Linked DNA regions of Homo sapiens: regions 1, 2, 3 and 4 are each linked to region 5. The links are contacts of gene promoters, found by promoter capture Hi-C in blood cells and fetal thymus (Javierre and others, 2016). All regions are on one chromosome and are shown on one strand. Each heading gives the region's core, a stretch centred on a gene start or on the middle of the fragment in contact. The rest is flanking DNA. Distances are from core to core; before and after follow the strand shown. Region 1 overlaps SCD5 (stearoyl-CoA desaturase 5). Region 2 overlaps SCD5 (stearoyl-CoA desaturase 5). Region 3 holds the start of SCD5 (stearoyl-CoA desaturase 5). Region 4 overlaps SCD5 (stearoyl-CoA desaturase 5). Region 5 holds the start of TMEM150C (transmembrane protein 150C).

The links. Contacts are between HindIII fragments. The CHiCAGO score rates a contact against its expected background, and 5 or more counts as called.
Region 1: a fragment that was not itself captured here is called in contact with the fragment with the promoter of TMEM150C in region 5 in 4 of 17 cell types (M2 macrophages, M1 macrophages, M0 macrophages and 1 more); the score reaches 10.1 in M2 macrophages.
Region 2: a contact is called between a fragment that was not itself captured here and the fragment with the promoter of TMEM150C in region 5, in 1 of 17 cell types (M1 macrophages). The highest score is 8.1, in M1 macrophages.
Region 3: a contact is called between the fragment with the promoter of SCD5 here and the fragment with the promoter of TMEM150C in region 5, in 6 of 17 cell types (erythroblasts, M1 macrophages, endothelial precursors and 3 more). The highest score is 6.7, in erythroblasts.
Region 4: a fragment that was not itself captured here is called in contact with the fragment with the promoter of TMEM150C in region 5 in 2 of 17 cell types (M1 macrophages and M2 macrophages); the score reaches 6.2 in M1 macrophages.

What each region holds. Positions count from the first base shown.
Region 1 is chr4:82,722,374-82,727,591 of GRCh38, forward strand. All of the region lies in intron 1 of SCD5 (stearoyl-CoA desaturase 5), which reads right to left. Among named protein-coding and RNA genes, the nearest start is that of MIR575, 28 kb to the right of the region's middle. The HindIII fragment of the contact is 3,428 bases long and covers 1,208-4,635 here.
Region 2 is chr4:82,772,266-82,776,799 of GRCh38, forward strand. All of the region lies in intron 1 of SCD5 (stearoyl-CoA desaturase 5), which reads right to left. Among named protein-coding and RNA genes, the nearest start is that of MIR575, 21 kb to the left of the region's middle. The HindIII fragment of the contact is 2,556 bases long and covers 51-2,606 here.
Region 3 is chr4:82,797,307-82,802,075 of GRCh38, forward strand. SCD5 (stearoyl-CoA desaturase 5) reads right to left here and starts at 1,490. Exons shown (of 5, transcript NM_001037582.3): 1 at 1,000-1,490. The coding sequence starts at 1,231. RefSeq lists enhancers at 1-237, 1,214-1,931, 1,932-2,648 and silencers at 1,046-1,095, 1,426-1,845. The HindIII fragment of the contact is 16,836 bases long and covers 1-4,769 here.
Region 4 is chr4:82,700,841-82,705,482 of GRCh38, forward strand. SCD5 (stearoyl-CoA desaturase 5) reads right to left here. Exons shown (of 5, transcript NM_001037582.3): 2 at 4,443-4,573. Among named protein-coding and RNA genes, the nearest start is that of MIR575, 50 kb to the right of the region's middle. The HindIII fragment of the contact is 313 bases long and covers 2,254-2,566 here.
Region 5 is chr4:82,559,916-82,564,511 of GRCh38, forward strand. TMEM150C (transmembrane protein 150C) reads right to left here and starts at 2,073. Exons shown (of 8, transcript NM_001080506.3): 1 at 1,991-2,073. RefSeq lists an enhancer at 1,799-2,298. The HindIII fragment of the contact is 8,598 bases long and covers 1-3,468 here.

The DNA.
Region 1 (5,218 bases), core at 1,672-4,171, 160 kb after region 5:
ACTATTTTTACTCAGTAATAAGTAATTGTTATGTTTTTGATAAGATGGTATAGTTAGAAAAAATGTGAAAGATCACTTAATCCAAAGCTACTTACAAAAAGTATTCCCAGCTGGGCATGGTAGCTCACTCCTGTAATCCCAGCACTTTGGGAGACCAAGGCAGGAGGATCACCTGAGGTCAGGGGTTCGAGACCAGCCTGGCCAACGTGGTGAAACACTAGGTGTCTACTAAAAATGCAAAAATTAGCCAGGTGTGGTGGCAGGTGCCTCTAATCCCAGCTACTGAGGAGCTGAGGCAAGAGAATCACTTGAACCCGGGAGGCGGAGGTTGCAGTGAGCCGAAATTGCACCACTGCACTCCAGCATGGGTGACAAGAGCCAAACTCCATCTCAAAAAAAAAAAAGTATTCTCGGCTGGGCTCAGTAGCTCACGCATGTAATCCCAGCACTTTGGGAGGCCGAGGCGGACAAATCACCTGAGGTCAGAAGTTCAAGACCAGCTTCGCCAACGTAGTGAAACCCCGTCTCCACTACAAATACAAAAATTACAAAAACTAGCCGGGCATAGTGGCAGGTGCCCGTAATCTCAGCTACTCAGGAGGCTGAGGCAGGAGAATCGCTTGAACCTGGGAGGCAGAGGTTGTGGTGAGCCGAGATCGCGCCATTGCACTCCAGCCCGGGTGACAAGAGCGAAACTCTGTCTCAAAAAAAAAAAAAAAAAAAAGGATTCTCTCCTGCTGGTTTACCTTCACCTCAGAACTACAGGAACATTACATAGTGAAGAGGTGTCTGTAACATTTCTACCAGTTGTTTCAATAGCATATTGGTCCTGGCAATTTTTGGCACTAGGGGCTCTCTGTTCTTTGTGATGTCTTGTTTGTGACGTTTATTTATTTTTAAAAATAACTAAGTGGAATTCTAAATGTAGATGTGGATCCGCACCAAGAAGTTCTTTTCACAAATCCCTAAATGTCTGATTTCCATTCAAGTCTTTTAAAAGACTTGTTTTTTCTTATTGGGCAGCAGAGAACTTTTATTTTCTACTTTCTTGTATACCTAAGAAGAATGAACATGCATTTCAATTGACTGTACTATATACTTTTTTGCTAAAATTTTTTCTGTAAATAAAATTACCTTGTTCAGTTTTGTCGATTACCATAAGATGCGCTGATTATTTGCTTTCTGATATGTTTGATAAGCGTGATAAAGCTTAAAAATTAAAAAACTTTAAAGTGGAACAAGCAGGCAATTGACACCTTCTGATGATGAATAGGAAGCACACAGCATCACCCTTCAGGCATTCTTGCCAAATATGCTTAACTTCAACCATGCCGGTAAGACTCACCTCGCAGTTTACAGAAAACAGAGGGAAGGTAGAAACAATCACACAAAAATGTGGGACATTCTACAGAAAACTAAAACAAAAAGTCAATGTCAAGGGTGAGGGTCTGTTCCAAAGACAATGAAAACAAATAACAATCAAATACAATGTGAAAGCCTGACTAGCTCCTAGCTCAAAACAAAAAACAATTATAAAAGATAGTCTGAGGACACATGAAATCTGAATCTGGACAAGATATTAGATTAGGTTATGATAATATCCTTATTTTTAGGGGATGTGTATGGAATCATTTAGGTGTAAATGGCCACAACATCTGCAACTTACTTTCAAATGGCTGAGAAAAAAAGTTATAGGTAAATAAAGCAAATATGGCAAATGTTAATAATTATTGAATCTAGTGGTAGATATATGGGTGTTTACTGTATTATTCTTTAAAATTCTGTATGTTTGAAAATGTACATAATAAAAGTCTGGGGAAAACAAGTGTCTTTGACAGTTGATAACAAATACCGAATTTCATCTTTCTCTTTTTAGGTCTAACATTAACACCAACCACACAAACGTTAGAACCAGAACATAGATGGCCAGCATGAGAAAGTACGGGCTAAACCTTGCTTTAGGCCAGGCATGGTGGCTCACACCTGTAATCCCAGCAATTTGGGAGGCTGAGGCAGGAGGATTGCTGGAGCCCAGGAGTTTGAGACCAGCCTGGGCAACATGGTGAGACCCCCATCTTTAGAAAAAATAAATAAATAAAACAGACCTTGCTTTGTACAGACTTTCTAATACCAAACTGATTAAACTTAAATACATGCATACCTCCTCTTCCTGCCCACAAATAAGTAGGCCCTAGAGTAAGTGGGAAAGGCAATATCAAATTAAAAGAATAATATAAAAAGATATACATGGTGGCCGTGATTAGCTCTTCCCTAATGCTTTCTGAGTCTGTTTCCTCATCTGAAAAATGGGAAGAACAAAACAAAGCTGGAAGAACTGTTTTTAGGACTAAAGATGAGAAATGTCAAGTGCTTGGTAAGTGGTAGACAGGTGATAGATACCCTGAAAACTGCTGTCGTTGTGCCTGTGAGCAGTGGGGCTTGCTAGTGGCAGCAGGAAGATACGAACCTAGACATTTAGGCCCCAGGGCCTGTCCTCCACTGCCTCTGAGAGCAAATGGAACATGGCATTTTGTTTTTCCTAATGAACATAATAAAGGTAACTATTAATAAGAAACAATTTTCACTCTCTCCCATGCAAAGAAAATGGTAGACATATGTTGATTATATTTCAAATTGCACACTTAAAGACCAACAAGGTTATCAACCTGGATGATAACCAGGAAGAATTCAGGAAGGGTTTTCTGAAGGCCAAATACAACAAAAAAGAAAAACCAAGTCAGAATAGTTCCAGAGTAAGGAGTTTTCCCATAATCTATATCCTCGGAATATTTTGTTGCTTTAATAAATAACTCCCCTGAACTTCAGAAATAAACCTTTCCAGCTGATGTGAAATCTAGATGGTGTTAGGCTTTCCTAAGGGCTAATGGGGCTCATGGGTACAGGCTCCTGATGGTGATAATCAAACTTTGAATGTGAATTCAGTTCAAGCCCAAAGAAAGCTATCACTCTGTCACCACCGTCCACGCTAACTTTCAGAGGGTAAAAGCCATACTTGAGTTTTATTTTCATTTCACTATCAACCACTCACAGTACTATACCAGCACCTTCCACTTGTCTCACCAAACAAACAAAAATGACAGCTATGGGTAGCATGAGTGTACTTTTTCTTCCATATGTTACTGTCACAGCATTAGCTCACCCATGGACATTCTAAAACGTGATTCCTTTAGAAAATAAAGCCTGGACCGGGCGTGGTGGCTCATGCCTGTAATCCTAGCACTCTGGGAAGCTGAGGTGGGCAGATCATTTGAGACCAGGAGTTCGAGGCTAGCCTGGGCAACATGATGAAACCCTACCTCTACAAAAAATACAAAAATTAGCTGGGCCTGGTGGTATGTGCCTGTAGTCCCAGCTACCCAGAAGGCTGAGGTGGGAAGATCACTTAAACCTGGGAGGCAGAGGTTGCAGTGAGCCGAGACCATGCCACTGCACTGCAGCCTGGGTGATGGGAGTGAACTCTGTTTCAAAAAAAGAAAAAAAAAGAAAAAAGAAAAGAAAGCTCTGGGAAAGATGCATTTGATTTTGGCCCAATCCCATAGGAAGCAGGATTTCAACTGACAAGGTGAGTCATGGAACCTAAGTGAGGAAAAACCGCCTGAAGGGTCTCCACTGACAGGCCTCAGAGGCCGCAGAGGCTCTGTGTCAGCCCAGTGGAGACTTCATCCTTCCAGAAGGCTCTTAAACAGAGGAACACCCAACAACTTTTTGCTCCCACCATGTTTGTTCCTAAACAATAACCTTGGGTCAGGCATGGTGGCTCACACCTGTAATCCCAGCACTTTGGGAGGCCAAAGCAGGCAGATCACCTGAGGTCAGGAGTTCGAGACAGCCTGACCAACATGGAGAAACCCCATCTCTACTAAAAATACAAAATTAGCCGGGCGTGGTGGCTCGTGCCTGTAATCCCAGCTACTCGGGAGGCTGAGGCAGGAGAATCGCTTGAACCCGGGAGATGGAGGTTGTGGTGAGCCATGATTGTGCCATTGCACTCCAGCCTGGGCAACAACAGCGAAACTCTGTCTCAAAAAAAAAAAAAAAAAACAATTACCTTGGATTTTTACAGCAAGGTTAATCGGGACTTTATCAACTGGGCAAACTTGAGTTTGCCGGACACTGAGATTAAAAGACTAGTTATTTTCACTCTGCTTGTTAAGAAAGCAGCTGTTTTTTTTTTTTTAAATAGAGACCTGCACTAAGTAATATAATACACGTTGCAATCTAGAACACACACAAATATGACTGATATACAATTTTCATAAACAATATTTAATTCTTACTAAACTCAATGCACTGACACTTTCTATTTTATTATGCTTTAAATGTTGGTCACGATCCAAACTGAAGTGTTCTACACCCCCTGTGAGGCCACAGTGTGCAGTGTGAGACGCGCTGGACTGGATAAAGCCTATGCTTCTTGGCATGCTCCCATCTCATACACAGCCCTCTTCGTCCTGTTCCTTTCCCCTGGAGCTGTCACAAAGCTGTCCTAATTGGTCAAGAAAAGGAGACACATCTCCTTTCTCCTCTACATTTTCTAAGTTCTGAAGGGCACCTGTCAATTGCTGCCCAAGCTCATCCTGCAGAGTGGGGGCTGTTCCAGCTCTAATGGAATGAAGCTTCTTTTTTAAATAATCATGACAGGATAATATAGAGGTGTGCTACAGAAAAGTCCACCCCATCTCACATCTTGAGGTTCCTGGGTTCATATCTAAGTAAGGAGAGGTTTCCCCATCAGATTCTGAATTCATTTCTCCTCCACTCAGGTTCAAATGAAACCCTAAACTTGACTTTAGGATGTAAGGGGATTCGGGTGTAACAATGATATGCAGTGGACAAGGCCTTGGTCCTGTACAACTGCACCACCTGCATTGTCTCTGGAAAAGGTCACTAAGGGATGCCATCTGCATAGAACACTATACTAAGAGTATGTATGCTCCTTAAAGGTGTGTACCCTGGTCTACCCTTGTGGAGTTAAACATATTTCAAACATTCAGAAACACACTCATCCTCACCCTCTATGAGTATACAGGTCCCACTCCTGGAGTTGTATCACCAAATCAGAGGTTATGGTCCATCCATCAGTCCCAGCCTCCGTGAAGATTCTTCCTTTTGTCTCCCAGAGACAGCTGCTGCTCCATGCTTTGGTTCTCTTTTAGTCTTTTCAGAAGCAATGGTCTTTCTCCTTGGACACCCCCAT
Region 2 (4,534 bases), core at 79-2,578, 210 kb after region 5:
ATGCGTCACTACATCAGACAGTGACAAGTATCCTTTGGATCTGCCAGGTAAGCTTTCCCAACATGTCTTCAGTTACAGAGTAGAGTCTCTTGGGCATATAAGTGGGCATTTGACCCAGGTCTGGCCAATTATAGCACCCCACCGTTCTGTCAATAACTCTTGAGCAGCCACATGACTTGTGCTGGTTAGCTTTGATTGTTTACAAACATATCCCTAACTCAGTGGCTTGAAGCAACAACAATTCACCATTTGTGACAATTCTATGGGTTGTCAGGGTGGGTCTTCCCATCTGAAATGGTCTCGCTATGGCTGGATGGTCTAGGATGGCCTCATACATGTCTAGTCTCAGCAGGGATGGCTGGGCCTCTCTCTCTACTGGCTGGCCTGGGCTTTCTCACATGGAGGCAGAAAGGTTCCCCGTGACAAGAGCAGAAGCACCTCTTGTAGGACCCCATGCGCCCTAGGTGGGGTGCTCCCCCGCTGTGCTCCCCTGAACCCTGTATGTCCTCTTCATAGAATTTCTGCTGCTTGATGAACTGTCAGGGACTGTTTCCTCCATGACAGCAGAAAGTGTTTCTATTTTATTCATTGCCTCTCATAGTGCCTGGCATCTAGTAGGTGCTCAGTAATTATATGGGTTATGAATGAATGATTGTGATGCATTCCAAAGATGAACAAATAAAGTGGCTAGTTCAATGAGTCATAGGTTTACTTGAGAAGGAGACTTAATGGATAGGGCAACATTTCAGATCTCATAGAACTGCAATGCATGGTGTGGGGAGCACTGATGTTTTTCATTCCTGATCCTGCAGGCCCTGGCCAGCACCCCAGGACACAGGACTTCATGCTCCCTATGCCAGCTTCGAGGGGTACAATAGAGTCTTTCTGGTCACTCCCTCCTCCCGCATTCTGCAATTGCATGTGTCCTCCCTGCCTGGGTCCTCAGTGCTGGGAAGTGGCCTTCAAGTCCCTAAAGACGACATAGTTGCAACAAGGATTTTAATTGCAACAAGGATTATATTGTTCAGCACCACACCACACATCCTCCCCATTCCTTCTCTCTCTGCCTCTCTCTCACTTCTGCACCTCCTTCCAGGGCATCCTGCCTCTCTTTGTCTCCTAGATGCAGGGACAGGCTCCAAGTAGCACACATCAGTCATTTCGCTACTCCAAATCAGCAGGGCCACCCAAGTCCTTCTGCAAGTGGAGGGGAGGATGAGATTGGGTTGGTTTTGGCTGAGCTTCAGCCAGCTAAACTGAGTACCCCCACCTCGTGTTCTTCCAAGGCTTAGAATCTCCAGCCCCACACATATTACAAAGAATTAAAATACCCACATGTCTAAGCAAAGTTTCTCAACCATGGCACTATTAACATTTTGGACTTGATAATTCCTTGATGTGGGGAGTTTCTATCCACTAGATGCTAGCGGCAATCTCCCCCTCCAGTTGTGACATTCAAACACATTTCTAGACATTGCCAAATGCCTCTTGGGGGTGAGGGCTCAGTCCTGGTTGAGAGCACTGGTATAAAGCCTTGAAAATGCACATAGAGGCCGGGCGTGGTGGCTCATCCCAGCACTTTGGGAGGCTGAGGCGGGTGGATCACTTGAGGTCAGGAGTTTGAGACCAGCCTAGCCAATATGGTGAAACCTCGTCTTACTAAAAATACAAAAATTAGCCTGGCATGGTGGCGCATGCCTGTAATCCCAGCTACTCGGGAGGCTGAGGCAGAAGAATTGCTTGAACCCAGGCAGCAGAGGTTGCAGTGATCCAAGATCATGCCACTGCACTCCAGCCTGGGCAATAAAATGAGACTCCATCTCAAAAAAAAAAAAAAAAGCACATAGAAATACATCCTATGGAAATGCATCTAGAAATTTATTCTGAGGAAATTATTAAGGATGTGCATGAGGATGAAGCTACAAGGATGTAGCCTGATAACATCAACACTGCAACAACAACGAAAAACAACCTAAATTTTCAACAATAGGGGGTTAAGTACATCTAAACGTTGGAATACGATACTGCCATTAAAAAAAAATCCATGATCCACATCTATGGACATGAAAAGATGTCTACGACGCATTAACGCATGAAAAAACAGCTAACAAAACAAGGTTATAGTATAATTGCAGACAGTGAGACAAATTGTGCATAGAGAAAAAAGGCTGAAAGGCTATAGCCCAAAATGTTAATAATAGTATCTCTAAAATGGGGAGATACAAGTAACTTTTTTGCTTTTGCTTTTGCTTCCTTGTGTTTTCTAGGCTGTCAACAATGAACAAGTACTTCTTAATTTATAAAATGTAAGATAAAATTCCTCGAAAAGAAAGAGTAGCCCCAGGTTTTGAGCACAGAAACCCACAAACCACTTCTCCCTGGGAGAAAAGTGACCTTCCCTCTTCCCCCACCCTTTGCTCCTCCCAGCATGTAAGAGGAATTTACTGCCTGAAGAAAACTGTTACATAGACCCAGTCTCTTGGTTCTGTTTCTCTCCCACCCTGCCCGCTTCTCTTCCACCCACTCTGTCTTCCCAGGATTCCAATTAAAGTGACTAATAAGAGCTTTGAGACTGATGGAGGAATTTGGAATTTGACCATCAGCAAAGCTTTAGAGGCACCAACAGGGGAGAAGTCCTTAAACCCATTCCCTGGAACTAATCCTGCCCTGCCTGACTGCCCTCAGCTCACCAAGGACCCACTCTCTGCAGCGGCCAGTCTTTCCTCTGGCATGTTCCAGATTCTCTAGGCCAGGGAGTTCAGACCGTTGGCTCCCTTCCTCTCCCCCACAGCCTGCCACTTCACTGCTAATTAGCACCTCCAGCTCAGCCAGCACAGGGTGGACAGAAGCAAAGCCATTGCTTCTGCCTCTTGCTAGAGAACAGCTGCTGGGAAAGAGGTGGCAAGCATTGGTCAGGATGAGTTTGTGGATATCCCCCAGATTCACTGGACCACAGTTGCTTCCCTCTCCTGTTCACTCCTTATTTCACTCACGCCCTGGTTGGGAGCTGCTTGTAGGCATGGATTCTGAGCAGGGCTGGAGCTATGGAAGCTCAGTTCAATGGCTTGTTCAATGGCTCTTGGGTATGGCCTAGGAAAGCATCGGCATAGGTGTAGGTGAGGTGTATGCATGTTGAGGGCAGATAAAGGAAAGTGGGGGAGTAAGAACATCTGGGGCTCAAGTCCTCACTTCCAAGATGACAGAGAAAGAAGAAACGACGGTCATGCCCAAAAGGGCCATGCCACGTGCAACCTATTTGCTGCAAGAACTGCACCTGATGCATGTTCAAGGACCAGGCTATTAAGAAGTTTGTGGCCAGGTGTGGTGGCTCATGTCTATAATTCCAGCAGTTTGGGAGGCTGAGATACAAGGATCACTTGAGGCCAGGAGTTTAAGACCAGCCTGGGCAACACAGTGAGACCGTCTAGAAAAAATTTAAAAATTAGCCAGGCATGGTAGCACATGCCTGTAGTCCCAGCTACTCAGGAGACTGAGGCTGGTGGATCACTTGAGCCTGGGAGGTTGAGGCTGCGGTGAGCTGTGATCATGCCACTGCACTCCAGCCTGGGTGACAGAGACCCTGTCAAAAAGAAAAAAAAAAAAGTTCATCATTTGAAACATAGAGGCTGCAGCTTTCAGAGACATTTCTGAAGCAAGCATCTTCGACGCCTATGTGCTTTCTAAGTGTGAAGCTACATCACTGTGTGAATTGTGCCATCCACAGCAAGGTAGTCAGGACTTCATCTCATGAAGGCCGAAAGGACAAAGAATCAAATACCTTCATCCCGATTTACATCTGCACGTGCTGCCCCACAACCTCCACCAAAGCCCATGTAAGAAGCTGAGTCCTTAAGGACTGAAGAAAAACTATTCTCTGGAGAAAACAAAAATGGAAATTATACGTAATATAGCATGTGGAGCGTATCTGTGCCAGATACGGTGGGGAGTTTGTGTGTCTGTTAGACCAAGTGCTCTGGTGTAAAGTGCCACATAGTGTTTTCATGGGGAAGAGAGCTTATCCATGAATATTAAACCTTAACTCTTTTGCAATCATATCCTTGGCCTCCCCAGTTTGCATGTGAAAAAAAGATCATTTCGGCATCTGTGAATGTTGTGTCAATTTGACCTGACCGAGTTTAAGTTAGCATCCTAAAAATAGGTGAAGACTGTCTAGGAGAGCAGGGAAAAACTGAACATGGTTGAGTGAGGAGCACATTAGGAACTGACTTAGAGGTGTTCATATCCCTGCTGGAGGCTTTCCTAGGAAAGGCATGACCTGGACAGCTTCAAAGCATCCGAGGATTCACATGCAGATCCTCAACCTCCTGCTTGGAATTGACCTGTGGTGAGCCAGCCTCTTCCAACGAGCATCTGTCTCTGGTGCATTTCTCTATGGAGCAGAAATGTCCAAGACACCAGAGGCATTTCTAGAAACCTGTGGGAGTCTCACAAGAGGAAGAAGAAGTTCCATAAAGTATGGAGAAAGGCTATGCCTTATTTTGTCTATGTAACAATGGTATGGTTTATGTGTTCT
Region 3 (4,769 bases), core at 240-2,739, 240 kb after region 5:
CAAATTCTCACTCAGCATATCAATGCCTGTGCCTTTTGTCCTGGCTACTGCCGCTTCAGTAAAGGAGGCCAAAACCAGTTATTGCGGCCAGGGCGGCTGCGAAGTGGTTCAAAGATCAACGACTGGGGTCGTGTAGGGTGGGCACGCAGTCCCTGGGGCCCAGGGGAAGGGGAATGGTGGTCGGCGCCCGGGCTCCCTTCCCTACTGGCAGGAGTGGGGGTGCACGGAAGGAGGGTACCAGGAGAGCCACAGGTTCCCACTGGCCACATGGGAACAGGGTTTGGAGAAGGCTCTGCACAGCCACAGTCGGAGCTTCGTGCTAGGGTCAGACCGCTCTCGCCATGGGATCGGTTTGCTCACCGAGAAACTTCACCGAGAACTGCAAATGGGCATAGAAGATTGCGGAGGGGGCAGGGACAGGGGCCTTGGAGAGGCAAGAGGGGAACCGGTATCTTCCATCTGGTGCGCGTAAACCAAGACTCTATCCTGTGCCGGGTCTCTCCTCCCCGGTCCAACTCCCTTACTTGTCCTCATCTCTGTCCCCAAGGTCCGTGACCCGCGGAGGTGATGGGGGGGATAGGAGAGCCCCAGGGACCGCAGAGGTGACACAATCGCCCGCCCGTCCTCCCTCGCTGGGAGCCGATTCAGCCTGTGCCGAGCCTCTCCCTTCGCGCGCCTCTGCGCACAGCGGTGGCACCGCAGGACTCCGGGTCCCCCCCGGCTCTCCATCGGGAAGCCGGCAAATGCGCTTCCTCAGGCAGACCGCGGCGGGGTGGGGGCGGGGGGGGGGCGGAAGTTGAAATACTGGGACAGAAACACCTGCCCGTCCCAAGGGACGGAAAACTGGATGCCAAGGGGGCCGCGGCGCGCAGCGGGAGGCGAGGGGAGACCGGGGGTCGCTGCGCACCGCCCGCAGCCGAGGGGCGAGCGGCGACCTCGCGCGCCCCAGCGCGGCCTGGCCACGGAGGCCGGGGCGCAGGGGGCGCCGGCGGGACTTACCCCAGAGCAGAGTGAGTGGCTTGGCTTTGGGGATGAGCACCAGGGAGTACACGGCCCCCAAGTGGAGCAAGCTCATCAGGACGACATTCCTCCAGACGATGTTCTGCCGCTGCCCGCGCGCGCCTGGCCTCTCCGGGCCGCCGCCGCCCTCAGAGCTTTCGAGCCCGGCACGGATTTCTTCCTTGGCGTCGCAGAAAGGGATCTTCCCCGCGTCGGTGGCCGGGCCTGGCATGGCTGGGCGAGGTGGGCGCCCGCAGCAGCGGCAGGCAGGCAGGCGCTCTGCCCGAGCGGAGCTCGAGGGTGGGGGCGGGGGCTTCTGCCTTTTAGGGGGGAATTCTCCGCACGTCCAGTCCCCTCCTTCCAGCCCTTCTCCCGGGCTCCTGCGCTCTTCCCCAGGGTCTTAGCGTGGCCTAGGGATGCAGATCTTGGCGGCCGGCGTCTGTTGCTGGCGTATCCCCCATATGGCTGCCCGGGCTGAACTCGGCCGCGAGAAAGAGGAGGCGCGCGCGGGGCGGGAGGGGCGCGCGGCCGGGGAGGAGGAGCTGTGAAAATGGAACGGGGCCGGCGACGCTGGAGGGAGCGCTCCGAAGGAGCGCGGAAGAAAGCCCTGCTTAGCTACAGCCAATCAGGAGCGCCCGTGCGGCGCTTATAGACAAAGGCGCCCCCCTTTCGGCTTTTCGGGGCCGAACTGGGGAGCCCGCTGGGCGGGAGTTGGCCGCCTCCGCCCGGGGGCGGGTGGAAGGTGGCTCCCGGGGCAGGGAGCCTGCAGGGCGGCTCACAGCGCTTCTGCTCTTGTGTGTGTGTGACCCCCAAAATGCCTTTTATGGTATTTTTCCAGTCCCCCCCCCAAAAAAAAACTTCCCGAAACTGTCATCCCTTTGAGAAGCCTTTTATTTCTTCTCAAGCCTCAGGCCACCTGGGTTGGAGAATTTTAAATACTTGCTTGGAGTCGCGACCCTAGTTAAGGCCAGACCCACGATGAGAATCAGAAGTCCCTCAATCTGCCAGTTAGTAGGGCTCCTCGGGCCAGGGGAGGGTTGGAAGGCAGCTGCTCGTTCTTAATTAGGCAGCTGTGGATTACCCAGGCACACAGTAAGTGCTCAGTTGGTGCTTGTGAGGTGATGCACAGATGATTTGGGCCAGTTCGCTGCCCACCCTTTGCCCATCCGCCGCGCCACTCTGTTTATGGTCAATTCTAGCTAATCAGCGCACTTCTGCAACGCCTCCTTAGCTCTCAGTGAGGAACACTACCCTGAAATCAACACCATTGAGAATCGGGCTTTACAAAAAAATCACCCAGAATGTTCCAAGGAAAATTAACCTGTGAAAGATTTGTGTCTGCCCACTTCTCTCCTAGAGCTGATGGCTTAAGAGCTCTCCAGAGAGGACCCTAGTTGCACAGAAAATGGAGGGAGGATTGAGCTGGAAGTGTCTGAAGCAGGTGTGACCGCAATTGCGGGCAGGCAGCAGAAGTAAAAGGGCTCGGGACAGCATCTCTGAGTTCTAGTTTTAACTGGCTGGAACCCAGCCCAACTCTCTGGGCACGGATTTCCTTACCTGAGAAGCAGAACTAGTTTCTACTCTTCCTTCCAGCTTCCATATTCCATGAATGTGAGTTCGAAGGGGCGCCATTATATTGACCAAAACCAGCTGATTTTTAGATTAACCGTTGTTAGGAATCATTTCCAGGATTTCAAGAGAGGCAAAAAAATTTAAAAGACTGACTGCATGAAAGGGCCATGCATAAGCATCTTATTGTTAGCAGACCTGAGCCAGTCCTAGCAGCCAGACAAAACAATGCCTGATTTAAGCTAAAGCAAGGTATGTGGCACTTGTGGAATCTAGGCCACTGAGTCAGTGTTACTGTGTTGCTTCAGACGGAGCTGAAATTATAGAATTTGCCTGGAGACCAGATAAATGTCGGCCCTATATAATGACCAGTCAGACAGTGGAACATGAAGCTGGAGGGTGCGATTTTCATCTGTCTGTTCAACCTGGGCTATGTAATGAACCACGTTTTCTTCTCATGCTCCCTCTGCTCCCCATACCCAGCAGACCTTCCTACTCCCTGTGGCTCTCTAGTTCAGACTGTCCTTTCTCTCTGGGGTAGACTAGTTGCTCGGCCAAAAGCCTCTCTCCGGGTTATTGGAAAGGCTCAATGCTGTAAAGACCCTCATTCTAAACATTCAGTCATTTATTTGGCATTTATTGGGCATCTGCTATGTGCCAGGACCAGTGGGCACAGGGGATCCAAGGATGAATAAAGTCTGGTCCCGCCCCTAAAGGAGCTCCCATCTAGAAGCAAAGATGGAGCAAACAAATGTAACCTCTTGACTATGACCTTGGAAGGGCAGAAAGTTACAGTCCATTATCGGAAAAAAAAATTTAATTAGGTATCAAACTTACATACAAGGAGTCTAAGGGAAGCAAAAATAGTTCCTTATTGTCCCCCCTGAGAACCTTATTAGGTCAGCTGTTCTATCTTGAATCCATCTTTTGTTTGTTTGTTTGTTTTTGTTTTTGAGACGGAGTCTCGCTCTGTTGCCCAGGCTGGTGTGCAGAGGCCTGATCTCGGCTCACTGCAAGATCTGCCTCCCGGGTTCACGCCATTCTCCTGCCTCAGCCTCCCGAGTAGCTGGGACTACAGGTGCCCGCCACCACGCCCGGCTATTTTTTTTTTTTTTTTTTTTTTTGTATTTTTAGTAGAGACGGGGGTTTCACTGCGTTAGCCAGGATGGTCTCGATCTCCTGACCTTGTGATCCGCCAGCCTTGGCCTCCCAAAGTGGTGGGATTGCAGGCGTGAGCCACTGTGCCCGGCCCTTGAATCCATCTTGAATGAACATCTTTCTCTTTTCCCTCCTGTGGGTCAGACCAGGTATGACCAGTCATTTCAGCTGGCTGTCCTCATAATGGAGAAGATGTTTTTGTGTGTTGAGGGAGGAAAGAAGTGTTACTTAGGTTTGTCAGAGCCTGCCTATAAAAGGATTGTTGAAGAAAAATGGTCCTTCCAGGTCCAGCCTCAGAGTGAAACATCTACAAGATCCAAGATATATTCTTGCTGATAACGACGGTCCTCTTTAGCCAATTATGCCATAGGGGTCACTGCCTCTTTTCTCTGTCTTGCCAAAGACCCTAGTATATTTTCCTAGCTTCTAGTCAGGACCCCAGGAGTGGATAAGTATTCACCTGTCCCAGGATGGGGCAAATGGGACAGTAACCCTTATCCTGTCAAACACGTAATTACCAAAAATGTAATAAGAGCCATAATGGTGGTATACGCAAGATAATGTAGAGGTGCAAAGGAGGGAGTTGTTAATTCACACAGAAGCAGGGAGGAGGGGGAGTGATACCTGGGGAAGGATTTTTAAAAAATATTTAATTGTGGTAAAATACATGTAACATAAAATGTATGTAACAAAATTTACCACTGTAACCGTTTTTAAATGTACAGTTCAGTAGTGTTAACTATATATGCACATTACTGTGCAACCGATCTGCAGAACTTTATCATTTTGCAAAACTGAAACTTTATGCTCATTAAACTCCCCTTTCAATCTCCATCCAGATGCTGGCAACCACTGTGCTACTTTGTTTCAATTAGTTTGACTACTCTAGATACATCATATAAGTGAAATAATAGAGGATTTGTCTTTCTGTGACTGGCTTATTTCACTTAGAATGTTTTCAAAGCTCATCCAGGTTGTATGTGTTAGAATTCCCTTCCTTTTAAGACTGAATAATATTCTATTGTATGGATATGAATTTTGTT
Region 4 (4,642 bases), core at 1,160-3,659, 140 kb after region 5:
ACCAAAATTGAGGGAATTTGTCACCAGTATACTTGCCTTGCAAAAAATGGTAAAAAGAGTTCTTCAGAGAGAAGAAAAATTATATCAGAAACCTGGATCTACATAAGTGAAGGTAAAATAGAAACTTTTATTATTCTTATTCTTAATCTAACACATAACAATTTGTTCAAAATAAGAATAGTAACAATTTGTTTAGTGATTATAGCTTATGGATACGTAAAATGAATGACAACAATGTCGTAAAAGACAGGAGGGAGAAATTGGGAATACACTGTTAGAAGGTCCTTGTGCTACTGCAGGTACTATTATGAAGTGGTACAGTGTTATTTGAAAGTGGGTTTCGATTAGTTGTAAATGTATATTGCAAATTCTAGGGCAATCCATAAAAATTTTTAAAAAGAAGTATAATTCATATGTTAAGAGAGGACAGAAAATAGACTTATACAAAATGGTCCATTAAAACCACATAAAAATAGAAAAAGAGTAGAATACACAAATAAAAAGTAAGAAAAAGAGCAGCAAATGGAAAACAGAAACTTGGTAGATATTGATCCAACTATATCAATAATTGGTAACTTGGTAGATATTAGTCCAACTATATCAATAATTACTTTAAGTGTGAATGGTCTAAATATACCAATTAAAAGACAGACTGTCAGAGAGGATTAAAAAAAAAAAAGACTAAACTCTATGTTGTTTAGAAATCATGCTGTAGGACAGCACATAAGAATATCCAGTGGGTGGCCTGAATCAGGACAATGGGGTTTCAGTCTGTCTATCCACTAATTAGCTGTGTGAACTTCGAGAAGTCACTGGTATTCTCTGTTTACTCCTCTGTAGAATATGAGAATTTAAGCTAAATCCCTTTAGTTCTCTTCCAGCTCTCAATCCAATGCCTCATTACCATGACTTGATAAGGAAATATGAGCCACGAGGGAGTGGGCTGAAGCATCTAGTAGGTGCTTTTGGTTGGACTGGGTCTGTGAGAGACCCAGATGTAGCCAGCAGAAGCAGATGCATGAGCGTGACAGCACAAATCTGAATCCTGGCTCTTCCTTGTGAAAACTTAACTCTTGGAGAACAGGCATCTCTCACCTGGGTCCATCTTTGACTTGGAGCAAATTATAAGGAAGTTGCAAGCAGTCTTTAGGTTGACTTCACCCTACTGGCAAGGAAGGAGGATAGACCATAGAGGAACTCAGGAGATCTTTGCTGAATACAAGCGTTCAGGTTCAGAGGGGACAGAGGATTTTATAGCTCCTTATCAGGCATTCCTGCCCCATCATCATCTTTTTTTTTTTTTTTTTTTTTTTTTTTTTTGTGAGATGGAGTCTCACTCTGTCGCCCAGGCTGGAGTGCAGTGGTGTGATCTCATCTCACTGCAACCTCTGCCTCCCGAATTCAAGTGATTCTCCTGTCTCAGCCTCTCAAATAGCTGGGACTATAGGCATGCACCACCATGCCCAGCTAATTTTCGTATTTTTAGTAGAGACGGGGTTTTGCCATGTTGGCCAGGCTGCTCTCGAACTCCTGATCTCAGGTGATCCACTCGCCTCGGCCTCCCAAAGTGCTGGGATTACAGGTATGAGCCACCACGCCCAGCCCATCATCATTTTTTTAGACTAAAAGTATCTCCACCTTTCCTACTATTGCCTCTCAGCCCCATACATACATCTTCTATAGAAGAAAAAGAAAAGGAGTTTAAAATGTTTAAGTCTCAACGTTAAGAATACTGTTCTTAATGCTCAAGGTCTTGTTTGTAGCATCTAGCAAAAACCCTGCTGATCCCAAACAGAGACAGCTATGGCATGACTTGTCCATTTTGGCCAATGGCATGACCATTCCGGTGAAGGAGAGAAGAGAGAGAATCTTTGAAACTATCTTTAAAAACCCATGGATTATCAAAGGGAAACTAAATCAATGACTGCATTAAGTCAGGGTTGTAAGTCACCATCCTACACTGGCAGATCATAGCATTTTTTCATTTCCCCAGGTTGTTCTCCTCATAGGGTTAAGTGGTTTAAATAAATTGTTCTAGACACTGACTAGTTCTAGTTCTGTTCTAGTTCTCTCCCACTGACACAGTTCTGCATGTTATGGAAACTGGCCCTAATCTGATCTTAGAGAGGTACCTTCCACCTAGGTCTAAGTGACATTGTTATAAAACCCCAGGTCCATGAAACACTGAAATTTCCACTGGGAAACTTTGGGGATTCTAATATCCTACTAGACAGAAAAGCTCCATGAAGGCGAAGCTTGTGACTCTTTGCTCATTGTTATTCTCACTGTGCCTTCTCAGTGTCTGCCACATAGTAGGTGCTCAATAAGTATTCGTTGAATGAATTTTAAAAATCCACTACAAATGTGGGCCTTGAAAAAGTATGCATAGTTCAAATTTGATGGTTTCTAAAACTACATTTTAAAGCTGTTCATTTATTTTTTTATTTACCTAACAATCATTAATTGTTTTCTATATGACAGACATTAGCATACAGAAACCAATTAAACAATATATCAATTCTCATAAAAGAGAAGGGGAGAACAATATTCACCGATTGCTACTATAAGCTTGGTACTTTTTATTCATTATTTTATCTTCCTAGCAACTCTGTGAGGCAAATATTATTATCCTCCCCTTGCAGATAAAGGAACTGATACTTGCAGAAAGGCTCACATCTAGCAAATGGCAGAGCAAAGAATTTATTCTAGGACCTGGGTACTTCCATCTACAGTGTACTTTCTCCCTAAAATAAATTTAAAATCACAGTCTAATATTCTGTTATGTGGTGTTTTGTTAAGAAAACTTAGGTTTTCAAATTTTGAGTTATAAACAAGTAGTTTCATGAGAAAAAAAATCAGAGTTTTAGGCTTCAGCTACAAGTTATTTATCTTTGAAAAAAAGTCCAATAATAGAAATGTTTTATAACTACATGAGTGTGTCATTGGAGGCTATAAAGAAAGGATTGCTTGAACACAAGAAATGAAAATTATCAAGTTAGGTCCTCAACGTCATCTAAGACCTAAGTCAATTATTATTTTGAAAGCACAACACTGAAATAAGATGGCTGAAGTCAAAATAAAGTGCAGCATAGTTCACACTGCCAGTGGTGAACAAATGAACATGGAACCAGGAAGCTGCCAACTGCTCCCTTATGCTTAATAGCTTATTTCCTAGGACCTCAGTACTAATACCTGATGTGCTTGAATGACAAGCAGTATATATACACACCACCAATTGTGTTTCCTAATTGACCTATTGTGTTATATCCTATTTACCTTATGAAAAGTCAAACTGTGTAAGAGATGCCTAAAATAAGGAAATGAATTCTGAGCTACAAGAGCACTTAGTGAAATATTCCGCATCAGGTTGTCTCGTAGGAGTGGAAGGCCCATGGCAGAGGTGGCCACATGAGCTGTGTGTCTGAGGGCCACAGGGAAGCTCCTGGGTCACCCGTCTCCCTGGACTCTAGAGCACTTTTCGCAATCACCATTCCTTCCCAATGAGTGAAAATGCACGGGGCCCAGAATCATCTACACTCATAATGTGGGCAGAAGTTTTGAAAACAAGTTGTTCTCACTCAGATTAGGAATTGGGAAAACAGAGATCCATGACCAAACCAAAAGTACCCAAGGAAAGTACCCAAGGAGGTGGGGAATGGTCTAGGACTGGGATAGTCTTAAAGAATATGGCCCAATCCTAGTGCAGTGATGACCGTCTCTTACATTTTTATAGCTCCCTGCAGTTTTCATTGATTTTATAACAACCCTGAGAATGAAGTTTTGTTCTTATTTTTACAGATTAAGAAACTGAAGTTGAGGAAGTGATTCACAGCCAGCACCCATCAGAGTAAAATCCCTGCGTCTTCAAACTTCAGATGGAATAGTCTTTCCACCATGACCTCGCAGGGCAACCTCGGGACTAGGTGTTGTAAGAGCAATGACTTGGAGTCAGGCTGGCCTGCATTTGCCTAGCCCTGAATGTACTGCTTTTTAGGCATATGATTTGGGCAGGTTCTTTAACCTCACTGAACCTCATTCTCCTCATCTGTAAAATGGGACACATGTAACATCTAGCTCACAGGGCTACTATGCGGATCAAATACTATATGCATACCAGTGTGCTTATCACAGAACTTGGCCCCTGGTTAGGGCTGGACAAATGTTGAGGCTTTCAGGGTATGTTCACAGCATGGGCTCTGGATAGAGGAGTCTCCTTTCCCCTCAGTAGTTCAGCATGCCTTAGGGCACAAAACCCCCCCAGGGGACATTTTACTGTATCTAAAAGCTACAAAGAGATAAAAACTTGGGACAGACTGGGCGTGCTTGGGGCCTGAACACTGAGTCTAGGACAGGGGTGGAGGGGTGTCAGCCCATCTTTCCCCTCCTCCCATACTGCCATCTGCACTGGGTCTCCCAACACAGAGAGGACCCTCCATCCTCACCTGGAAAGCCATGGAGTTGGCGACAGCCAGAAATATCCTCAGAGGCAGCTTGGCCCGGTAGGACCTGTGGCTCCACAAGCGATGGGCACCAGCTGTCACACCCAGAGCGGCCAGGAGGAAGCAGAAGTAGGCTGCAAGACACAAGCAGGGACAACGTCAACAATGGTCCCTGAGCTTTCAAACACCCCCCATGCTTTTTC
Region 5 (4,596 bases), core at 823-3,322:
TAATCTGACCCACTGTACTAAAGAGGTGTGGGTCACAGGCGAGACAAAGCAGGAAGACAGACAAGAGTGTAAAGCAAAGGGCCTTCTCTCTTGACAATTGCAAAGCAGATAAAGTGAGCCCAAAAACCCCTGCAAGGTCATTGTGAACATGATTGTGGTAGTTCTACAACAAAGGCTAAATAGAACGCATTATTGTGTTCACGCAAAAAAAAAAATTACTCCATAGAGCAAATTATCCCCCCACAAAGCAACATGGAAAAGGTATTTGTAAGAAATGCATGAATTAAGCAATTGCTCTGAAGACTTAAATGCCAATTTAAATAATCCAAACAGATTGCATTCAGCTAATGGCAGATTATAATAAACATGCATTAAAGTGTTTTTCAAATACTTTAATATATTTGTGAATGTCATAACATCTATCAACTAGTCATTATTGTTAGCAAAACTTCTTTACCCTTTTATTTACCATGTCCAGTTTGTGAGCTTCCAACTTGGGGGACTTGCAAAACATTTATTAAATAATGTATAAAGGACACACCATTAAAATTCCTACGCTTATGCCTTGAAGATTAAACTCACATTTCTAGCTCATTAATAGATGACAGCTATAGTTAATCCTGGAAACATGGAGTCTCTAGAACACATACAAGAAAAAGTTTGGGATTTGATACATGAGAGCTGAGACTAAAATTCTTTGATCGGTCACATATATGGGCCTAACAATTTTTCCTTGAAATAGGAAACTTTAAGTAGGTCAGTTTAATGACTGCTACCATGGAGTTTATAAATCCACACTCAACTATCCTTTCGATGAACTGCTGCCCAGAATGGAGTTATAGCCCTGCACTATTAAAATGTCTTTGGTTCAAGCAGAGAAAGATGCAGAAACTGATCCTGCCATTTAGGCTTTGTTATTGTTTTAGATCCAATAACTGTTTGGTTTTGTTTTTCAACATGGCATTGGTATATCTGGTTCCCCAACAGGACCTCGCATGTAGGACATCGGAGTGGGTTCACTCGGGAAGATGGACTTCCATTCTACCTGAGCTATGTTCCCACATGCGGTCACAATCCTGGCCCAACCGTGAAAGGCGGTCTGGCCGGAATAAACCTGACCAAAAAGATCAGTGAAATGTGTGGGACATCATAAAGTGCTGTGGGGGTAGGGGTGGAGGAAAGGAATGAGTAGAGAAAAAAGGAGCATGAATTTAAAATGGGAAAACCCTCTCATACTCCATTTGATTCATTTAAGGAGGGGAAAACCACTCAAGGACTCTCTCCAGAACCCAAAGCTAATCACTTTTTTATTGCAGCAGATTACCAAAGAGCCTAGGTAACCCACCTACCACGGCCTCCCGCCGAAAAACCAAAAATCCCATTTCTTCCCAAGTGTGCGCCCAGGAAAGGAAGGAAGACTGTGCATTTAGAGTGGAGGGCGGTACACAGGGCAAAGCAAGTTAGTGCCTCCTTCCCAGATCCCCTGCTTCCCGAGCCAGCCTGACCTGGCTAACCGCAAAGTGCAGGGAGAATGGCACAGGGACCGGGAGGTCAAACTTGGGGTCGCTTCTCACCCGAGTCCACCCGATAACGAGATGATGGGGCGGCGGGTGGGGACACCTGTCAAAGGACGGGGCCGGGGCCGGGGCCGGGGCCGCAGCGGGCGGGCTGGCTGGCGGCACTGCGGCGGCGGGGACCGAGGCGCGCCGGCTCGGGCGTTCGCAGGTCGCGGGGCAGAGCCGGCACCGACTCCTGGACTTGCCGGGGAGCGTGCGCCCGCGGAGGGCTCGGGCGGGCGGCCCCGCGCCCGGGACGCTATGGGAGGGGGCCGCAGCCGAGCAGGGCCCCGCAGCCGGGCGGACCCAGCCGCCCCAGCCGCGCTGCAGCCCCCGCCGTCCCCGGTCTCCGCCTGCGGGCTGCGCACGGGGCCGGGCCGGACGCCCCCTGGCTGCGCGACGGGCCCAGGCAGGGGAGGGGGCGCCGCGCCTACCTGCTCTGGTGCGGCGGGGCCGCTGTCGCCTCGAGGGGCTGTGACCTGCTGCGGTGGCGGCGGCGGCAGCAGTAGCGGCGGGTAGGGCGCTTCCTTCAGGAAGGGGTGGGATCTGCTCACCCGCCCGCCCGGCCCCCTCCTGCCGCGCCGGGGCCCGCCCCCGACTTATTCTGGGGTCCCCGCTGCTAGGCCTTCGGGGAGAGTTGATCCCCTGGGTCTCGGGCTTCTGCCACCCCCCCGGGGCCCCTAATAGTCACCCGGGGCAGGAGCCGGGTGTGGGCGGGCGAGCCGCTTCCTTCCGAAGCCTTTGTGGACGCGTTTGCCTGGCGCTCCTCATCCAACAAAAGGAAGGACAGAATCTTGGATCCTCCGCCTGGTGGTTATTTATTCCTGACCTGTTGTAACCTTCTGCCTGGCTCTCTTTCGTCCGCACACCTAGGGTTTTTGCACAAAGCAGCTAAAATTCATTTTCATGCCCATTGACTGAATGTAGTTCTCCTCCACTCAGCGCTGTCCCGCGGTTTTTGGTTTTTTTTTTTCCATCCTATTGAACAAACACAGAGCCAACTTCGGACCCTGGCAATGAACAGCAGACACCAAGGCCGACCTCCCAGCGCCAGCTTGCAGCTTTCCTCCCTGGGTCTCGTCTGAGTCCGTCATAAACTGTGTTCATCAGCGTTTTGACAGCTTCCCCCATCCCGGACCCCCAACCTACCATGGGACCCCATGGCACCATGTCAGTGACCTCTAGCAGCAGCATGGATCAATGCCATTTTTATCTTAGGCTCATCATGAGCCTGGGTTCCAAACACAACCTCTCTGGCCTCCAACAGGTGGCTCTCTATCAACCGGCCTTTGTCAGTCTGCCCTCTATTCTTTTGGGGGCTTCCGTAGCACACCTGTCTCCTTTAAACTGCTGTCTCTACACAAGCAGGCATTCCCTTTTTTTCTTTTTCTTTTTCTTTTTCTTTTTCTTTTCTTTTCTTTTCTTTCTTTTTTTTTTTTTTTTTGAGACGGAGTCTTGCTCTGTCGCTCAGGCTGGAGTGCAGTGCCGCAATGTCGGCTCACTGTAACCTCTGCCTCTCGGGTTCAAGCGATTCTCTCGCCTCAGCCTCCTGAGTAGCTGGGATTACAGGCGCCCGCCACCATGCCCGATTAATTTTTGTATTTTCAGTAGAGGCGGGGTTTCACCACGTTGGCCAGGCTGGTCTCAAAACTCCTGGCCTCAAGTGATCCGCCTGCCTCAGCCTCCCAAACTGCTGGGATTACAGGCGTGAACCACCGCGCCCGGCCCAACCAGGTGTTTCTAAGAATCTTCTCCAATTCAGCATATTCAAATTCTGCAATTAACGTTCGGTTCCAGAACTCTCCCTTCCCCACAATTCTTGTGATTATTGTCTACTATGTGTATATTGATTCTTTTTTTTTTTCTGTATGTTGATTTCTTGTTACTGTTTTCTCCTGGCTACTAGACTGTAAGCTTCCTGAGACCAGGGATCTTGCCTTCTCTTGTTTTCCTTATTTTAATGAGTGGGACTGTTATCCATTCAATTAAAATAGCAAAAGCAAAAACTGAATCTTAGTCTAGACTCCCTTGAAAGTATATGCTCAATTTTGTGGGAATTAGCTTATGTGTACTTTTCTGAGGAGAGTAACTACACATTAATCAGACCCTCAAAGTGGTCTGACTCCCCCAAAGGTAAGATTGCTTGAGGCCCATCCATGAACCCCTCCTCTCTCTACTCCCTGTCCCCATGCCATTCATTTCTCTCTGCAATAACGGAAAGAGTCCTCTAGCTAGATCTTCCAATTCATTCTTTCAGAAGTAGATCCAGCCAAAGAATTAGCTGTCCCTCAAACACAGAAGTGGTACTCTGTTTTCACATCAGAATCACCAGTGGGGGCTTTAGAAAATGATGCCTGGGTTCACCTCAGACCCAGAGTCAAAACCTGATTGGAGGTGGCGGGGGAAACCAGAACACAGGTATTTTGACAAAGAACCGCAGGTGATTCCGACATGGCCATGCCATATCACTCCCTTTCTTGGGAATAGGGCTCCCAATTTGTAAAATGCCCTTACTTTCCCCTCCCCCATTTTTTTGTGGAAGGATTGAGAATCCATGCACCAGGTTTAATTTATTTCAACATTTTCATTTTCATTTAGAGCCAGGCCTATGTTTCCTAAAAAAAACCAACTTGAGTTTGTGAGGATCGCAGGCTCAGTGCCATTCCTCAGCACCACTAAATCACCGCCGCCTTCATCTCCAAAATGTCCCTCCAAATAAACCCAAAAAGCAAAATGAATTACATTCCTGACAGTGATATTACCAGCTGAAATTGTGTGTTAAAATGCTGGCCATGAAGGAGAGTTGGTTGCTATAAGCAGATTCTGTTAATGTCATGAGAGTTCGAGCGAAGCTTCGAGAGTACAAGCAAAACATGGGCTTCTCTGTGCCTTTTTCTTGGTATCCCATCTGTTAAAATTTGTTGTCCACCATGTACTCAATATACCCTTAGATATTTTAAATCATATATGGGTGTAAGACTGAAATACTTTTCCAGAACCGGTTGTCCTTTTTTCTTTTGAGTATTTTTTGGGGGATGAA